Linked DNA regions of Homo sapiens: region 2 is linked to region 1. Evidence: promoter capture Hi-C in 16 types of primary human blood cells and fetal thymus (Javierre and others, 2016). All regions are on one chromosome and are shown on one strand. Each heading gives the region's core, a stretch centred on a gene start or on the middle of the fragment in contact. The rest is flanking DNA. Distances are from core to core; before and after follow the strand shown. Region 1 holds the start of PPP1CB (protein phosphatase 1 catalytic subunit beta). Region 2 overlaps RBKS (ribokinase).

Evidence for each region. Contacts are between HindIII fragments. The CHiCAGO score rates a contact against its expected background, and 5 or more counts as called.
Region 2: a contact is called between a fragment that was not itself captured here and the fragment with the promoter of PPP1CB in region 1, in 1 of 17 cell types (total B cells). The highest score is 5.3, in total B cells.

The regions. Positions count from the first base shown.
Region 1 is chr2:28,750,119-28,753,526 of GRCh38, forward strand. It overlaps PPP1CB (protein phosphatase 1 catalytic subunit beta), which reads left to right and starts at 1,712. Exons shown (of 8, transcript NM_002709.3): 1 at 1,712-2,058. The coding sequence starts at 2,007. PPP1CB-DT (PPP1CB divergent transcript) reads right to left here and starts at 1,638. Exons shown (of 5, transcript XR_007086259.1): 1 at 1,525-1,638; 2 at 1-267. RefSeq lists enhancers at 1,125-1,334, 1,638-2,282 and silencers at 1,465-1,654, 2,145-2,364. The HindIII fragment of the contact is 5,134 bases long and covers 357-3,408 here.
Region 2 is chr2:27,884,272-27,887,816 of GRCh38, forward strand. The region is part of intron 1 of RBKS (ribokinase); the gene reads right to left. Among named protein-coding and RNA genes, the nearest start is that of RBKS, 4.3 kb to the right of the region's middle. The HindIII fragment of the contact is 2,266 bases long and covers 413-2,678 here.

The DNA.
Region 1 (3,408 bases), core at 462-2,961:
GATGTACACATTTATGTAAACTACGTTAAATCCTTTCCTCTGGAATAAAGTAGGGTGTAAATAAATTTAACAAAACAACAAAGAGTGATGATGAGCCAGGTCTTCACTCCTGAAGGCCTCAAAACGAACTGGCAGTGATCTGTGAAAACTACAGAGAACTGCCCGTTCATCTCCACAGATTACTGAAGTCTGTGAAAACTACTCCAGCCAGGACCACCATTATAGCCTGCTGCCTGTTGTGTTCACAATCGATGCACAAACTCAACCCTGAAATGGAGAGAAAAATAGGGGAAAAAAGACATTAGGAAATCCTAGCTCTATGTCATCTGGACATTAGAAAGCACTTGGTTGGACAAAGCTTTTTCTCCCCCACAGCACATGCCTGTTTCAGCATCTCAGCCCACATTCACGGAGAGGGAGAATATAGCAATTGTTAAGAATGCAGACTCTAGCACTGCATGCTCTGCTGTTTATTTGTGTTATTTGGGCTAGGTTTTTTAACCGTCTGTGCCTCGGTGAATCCCATCTACAAAGTAGAGATAATAATAGTACCTACCTCACAGGGCAGTTGTAAGGATTAAATGAGGTAACCCGGGTGTAACATTTAAAACAGTGGCAGAGTACATACAGGGATCTGAACAAATGTTAGCTACTATTAGTGATATGTGAGTGGGGGAAGCACACTGCCTTGGACTTGAGGCAATATCAAGTCTGAGTTTCTGGAAAAACACTTGTGGAATAAGTAAGGGCTGGCCACCTCCTAAAACCGGACAAAAGATCTGGCTTGCCTAGATCCTTAGCGTGACTGCTTCTCCTCCTGCCTTTCTAGAGGCAGTATTACGTGATGGAAATACTTGGTGGGTGCTGTGGGCACAAAGATAAGTTAATGTGTTTTTATTCCCTAGGAGCTGAGTCGAGAGTAGGAGAAAAATGCATAAATAATTACCAGGTAGGATGATTAAGCAATATACTGGAGGCAGCAACAGAAACACACCGTGGAAAAAAAATACCCACGGCGTGGATGAAGATATGAGATGTGTGAAAGCGCTAGACACAGGCAGCCACCTGCACCCATGTAAAATTGGATTATTGCTGACTCCTACAAGGCCCACTTTAACGCTTCTTTCAACCAGAATCCCTGCAGAACTAATTTTGTAGAACCGCCGGGGATAAAGACCTTTATTTGCAATGTCGAACTCCAGCAGAGTAACCCCTTTTGCTTTCCACACGCGCAAACCCGGGTCCCAAACGCTGCAGTTCGCGTTTCCCGGCTAACGGAAGAAACACGAGGAACTGTTTGCAGATCTAGGGGATGAAGCCAAAAAACGGAAAGCGAGGCCGAAAGGGCGCAACCACCACGTCTGGAGGAGGCCAGTGAAGTAGAGAAAGGGGAAGGTCAGCCCTGCCCCAGCGCGCTCTGCGTAACCGGGACTTCCTCCGCGCGGCAAAGCCGGGGAACCTCCCTGGCGCCTGCGCCACCGTGGCGAGACTCGGCGCCGTGGACGTGGAGAGAGGGCGACGCACCTGCGCGAAGACGGCAGCGGGAGAAGCCGCTCCAGTGCGGTTGCGCGGCGGCCCAGGCGTCGAGGGGAGCCTCGGCGGGGAGCGCACCGCGCGCCTGCGCGGAGAGCTGCGTGACGCGGCGGCGCGCAAGGGACGTGCGGAGTGAGTGGCGCTGCGGGTGGGGCCGTCGGCGGCGCTGGTGAGCTTTGCGGAGCTGGGCGGTGCCGAGGAGGAGGAGGTGGCGGCCTGGGTCTGACGCGGCCCTGTTCGAGGGGGCCTCTCTTGTTTATTTATTTATTTTCCGTGGGTGCCTCCGAGTGTGCGCGCGCTCTCGCTACCCGGCGGGGAGGGGGTGGGGGGAGGGCCCGGGAAAAGGGGGAGTTGGAGCCGGGGTCGAAACGCCGCGTGACTTGTAGGTGAGAGAACGCCGAGCCGTCGCCGCAGCCTCCGCCGCCGAGAAGCCCTTGTTCCCGCTGCTGGGAAGGAGAGTCTGTGCCGACAAGATGGCGGACGGGGAGCTGAACGTGGACAGCCTCATCACCCGGCTGCTGGAGGGTGAGTGCGCGCCTGGCCGCGGGACAGAGGGAGGTCGGGCACCGCCGCCGACCCCTGCGTCCCCGTCTGCCGCCGGAACGCGAGGGGACCCCTTTCCCGCCCCGAGACGAGTCTCTGGGAGCGCGGCGCGGCGGACGAACCGAGGAGGGGGCGAGGAGGCTCTGGGCGCGGGGGAGCGGCCTCTGGGAGCGCGGTCAGGGGAGATCGGGGGAGAGGGGGCCGTTCCCGCGGACCCTCGGGGGCCAGGCCCGCCGGCCGAAGGCTGTGCGGAGCGGGTCTGCGGGAGACAGCCTTTCGGAAAGGCCGCCGGGCTCCGCGCGCCGTGGTGCTCGCCTCCGGTGACCCGAGGATGGGGAGAGGATGCCTGCCACTGGGCTTTGTGCGTCCGTGGAATCACTGTTCTTCTCTGTTCTCTTTGTGCATTGCCCTTGGCTGCCTCCGATTGTCGTTCCGGGAGTGAATTTTACGTATATATATATAAACCTGTCCTTAACAGGACTGCTTCGTCTGCTCTGCATTTTTACACAATGCTATATAGAATGGATTCTTCTTAAAGAGAGGATAAAATTAGCGGGAATTAATCTACCGTTTGTTACTTGGCCTAAAAAAATTGTAAGACAAGATATTTGATCAGGTTGAAGATGCACCTAAGAAATGTGATGTATGTAGATGGGTTTGCTGAAGGGATTGGCTTTTGCATTTGATTTGAGCAGAGCTTAATTTCTGCACAAACTTAGTGAAAATCTATTTTTAAAGCCTGTCTTGTATTCGAAAGGTATTTGTAGGTCTACGCAGCATTTGAACTTTCCGGGCTCAAGTGTTCTTATTGAATAGTTTTATGTTGGTGGGAAGGCAAGGGGGGAAAACGAAGAGGTGGACTAGCCGGGAGTTAAATGTATTGATTCATTGCAGGATATTATTCAAAGTTAAATGCAGTCTTCTGCCAAACAGTCCCTCTACCCTAAAGTTTTCGTCATCAATAATTGTTTTGTGAGTGTGTAGAAAAGCCTTTAATCCTTTTTAAACAATTTAGAGGCCTCTTTGTTAGCCGCCGTCCAGCGATTGCATATGTACTGTTTGCTTTCAAATTACCTTAAGATAATTGCTAGAGTGAAGCAGTATGTACTTATATTTGGAAAATCATCAAAGAATATTGTAATGGGGGAGGGGTAATTCCTTTTTCTCAAAGTATGTGTCGGTATCTCAAACCCAAGTTCTGTGAGTACCTGTTCTGTAACTAAATACTGTGTATTTGCTCCAGATGTGAAAGCCATCCAGCAGTCTTAAGACTGAATAGGAAGCAAAAGTTTTACCAGGAACTCTTATTTACCTTTTCCTTTACTATCAAGT
Region 2 (3,545 bases), core at 296-2,795, 870 kb before region 1:
AGGGTCTCACTCTGTTGTCCAGGCTGAAGTACAGTGTACAATCGAGGCTCACTGTAGCCTCAACCTCTGGGTCTCCAGCGATCCTCCCACCTCAGCCCCCCAGTAGCTGGGACTACAGGCTCACACCACTACGCCCAGCTAATTTGTGTATTTTTTGCGGAGACCGGGTTTTGCCATGTTGCCCAGGCTAGTCTTAACTCCTGAGCTCAAGCGATCCACCCGCTTGGCTTCCCAAAGTGCTGGGATTATAGGCTTGAGCCACCACTATGCCTGGCCATAACTTTTTTTTTTTAAGTAATCTAGGTCCAATGCTTCATCCGCTTTGGATCTAAAAGCTTCTAAATTCACTTATTCCACTATCCAATTAAACCTTTTGAAAATTAGGCACTCATTTCCTGATTTGGCAGGATTAAGCTTAGATGCTTGGGTGAACACGAGTCTTATCTCTCAAGCCATCACTTTTAATTGGCAGCATGTAAAAAGATAACACAGAGTTTTAGTTGACATCAGAGTCTATTGCTATGGAAATATAAACATAGGTTTGTATTAAGCACGTCTCAAAGCAAGTTTTAGGACTGCAGAGAGACTTGAAGAGAGACAGGAAGTCAATTTTATTAAAAATTTATCCTTTAAATGTTGTAGTGCCCTAGGAGGTCAGACCCTCAGTGATCTCATCCAGCCTCATGGCTTTAAATACCATTGATACACTGATGACTCTGAAATTTATATCTCCGGGTTGGACCTCTCCTTTGAGATCCAAACTCTTGTATCTATTTTCTTCACCTCCTCAATTTGATATCTAGTAGGTACCTCAACCCTCCCAATTCCACTCTGTGCTCCTGATACAGCCCTCTCCCACCCAACTTTCTCTGCATACAATCTTCTGCGTTTTCATAGAGGTCAACTTCCACTAATCCTGTCAACTCTACCCCAAAAATATAATAGAAAGATGCTTTCTCTCCACTTCACTGCTTTCAAGCTACCATCATTTCTTGCCTAGATTGTTGGGATTGACTCTGAATTTGTGTCCCTGCTTCTGTATTTGCCTTCCCCTTCATGCTATTTATTCTCATATAGCCCTTGGAGAGATCCTATTATAATCAAAATAAGATTATGTCACTCCCCTGCTCAAATCCTCCACTAGCTTTTCATCTCATCCAAAGTATGACTCAATGTCCTTTAATCACTGATTGCTGTCTCCTGACTCTTTTTTTCTTCTTCATCCATACTGGACTCCATGTTCTTCACTGAATACGGCCTTTGAGTACACTATTCCTTCTGCCTGGAATGCTCTTCCCTCAGATTATGACTTGTTTTCTTTCCTCCTTTAGGTCTTTACTCTAAATAACCTTTTCAGTGAGGCTTTCTGAAGCCAGTAATCTAAACTTCCTATTCCCATCCCTCCTTACATGTTTAATTTTTCTCCTTAGCTTTTACCTAACTTACTATGTAATTAACTTATTTCTACTGATACTGTCTTACTAGAATGTAAACTTCATGAGGCAGGGATTTTTGTCTGTGTTTTCACTGCTGTATCCTCTGCACATCAGGAAGTGCCTGGCACATAGTATAAATTCAATAAATATTTCTTGAATGAATAATTAAAAAAATGGGTGATACAGGTCATAAAAAATAAGGTTTACTAATGAAAACATGATTAACAAAGGCCTATGAGCCTAACGTCTAAAAATATTCACACATTGTTGTTTTGTTGTGGAAATCTGTCTTTGGAAAATCTTTGACTTTATATCCCATAAGACCAGGGTTGATTCCTTGTATCTTTGTAATGTGTAACTTTAGAGATGAGTGTTCAAGAAGGAAGAGGATGATGAGAAAAATATAAGTGAGTATTAAATAATTTCAATTGTTTGCCATGCTGTATGAGCTAATGATTTTTAAAAATTATTACTACATACGACTTACTATTCATAGCTGACTGAAATTAGAAATGAAAAAAAAGGTTATTCATTGATTGAATTAGCAGTGTCTGGCACACAGTAATGTAATATATAAAGTAAGTTGGGCTTGGATGCCATCTAAAAGGGCTTAGTTATTGAAGCAGTTTTATTTCTGAAGTGATACTAAAGAATAGGCATGCGTGTCCAGGCTAGTTACAGTTAAATTTAGGAATAAGGCACAGTAATAAAGATACTATCTTTAGACTTGAAAATTATAAATCCTTAGTTGTTATTCCTTATCAGTTTATAAAGTTAACAATGAATGTACAGACTACAAGCTATCAAATGTACTGTAGATGAAAAGGGCAATAAACACTAGTCAGAGTTAGAGGTAGAATGATATAATGGAAAGGTACGAATTGGGGCCAGGCACGGTGGCTCACGCCTGTAACCCCAGCACTTTGGGACACCAAGTAGGAGGATCGCTTGAGCCCAGGGGTTCAAGACCAGCCTGGGCAATATAGCGAGAGCCCATCTTTAACAAAATAAAAAATAGAAAATATATATTTAAAAAAATAAAAAAGAAAGGTTAAGGATTGGGAGACCTGGGTAGTAGCCTTTACTAGCCACTTACTAGCCAGTAAGTAACCACTTACTGGCTGTGTGATTTGGAGTAAGTCATTGAAGCTCTCTTCCTTATCTCACTTGTAAAATGTGAGGATAGAATGATAGGCTTCAAAGAGTCTCTGAGAACTAAATATTGTAGGATTTTTTACTTCAAGCTTAACCACTGTGGTAGCAAAAATAACATACTCTCTGCTCCCCTCTCCCAAAGTATGTCCACATCCAAATCCCCAGAATTTGTGAATATGTTGTTACGTGGCAAGGGGAAATTAAGGTTCCTAATAAGTCACCATAAAATAAAGAGATTATTCTGAATTATCTGGTTGTGCCTAATGTAATCACAAGAGTTCTTATAATGTAGAAGAGGGAGCCAGAAGACTGGGGATCAGAGTGATGTAATGTGAGAAAGACCTGAACAACCATTGCTGGCTCTGAAGATGGAGGAAGGGGCCACGATGAGCCAAGGATGTGGGCAGCCTCTGGAAGGTGGAAAAGGAAAGAAAACAGATCCTCCTCTAGAGTCTCCAGAATGGAGCCCAGCCCTGCTGACACCTTGATTTTAGCCCAGTGAGACCTGTATCAGACTTCTGACCTCCAGAACAGTAAAAAAATAAACTTGCGTTAATTATTAAATTTGGTAATTTGTTACAGCAGCAGTAGATAACTAATATAATCATGATACTAACTGTAACTAGAAAAGTTGCACCCAAGTTTATCACAGATGCAGGGTTTTAAATGAAAATCCTATACGCAGATTTTTGTAAAGATCTTCAGTGTCATAAGTAACGAGAGATCATGAAAAGTTTGTTGAAAAGCTGTGGGAATTAGCAGAGAGAGTCTATATGGGAATACAGTTTTTACTAATGATTTTTTACTGATGATTTTACTAATGATTTTGCTAATCATCAGTAAAATTTTTACTAGTGATTTTGCTAATCATCAGTAAAATTTTTACTAGTGATTTTGCTAATCATCAGTAAAATTTTTACTGATTCATGTGAAGAGAAGAAACTTGGATATTTT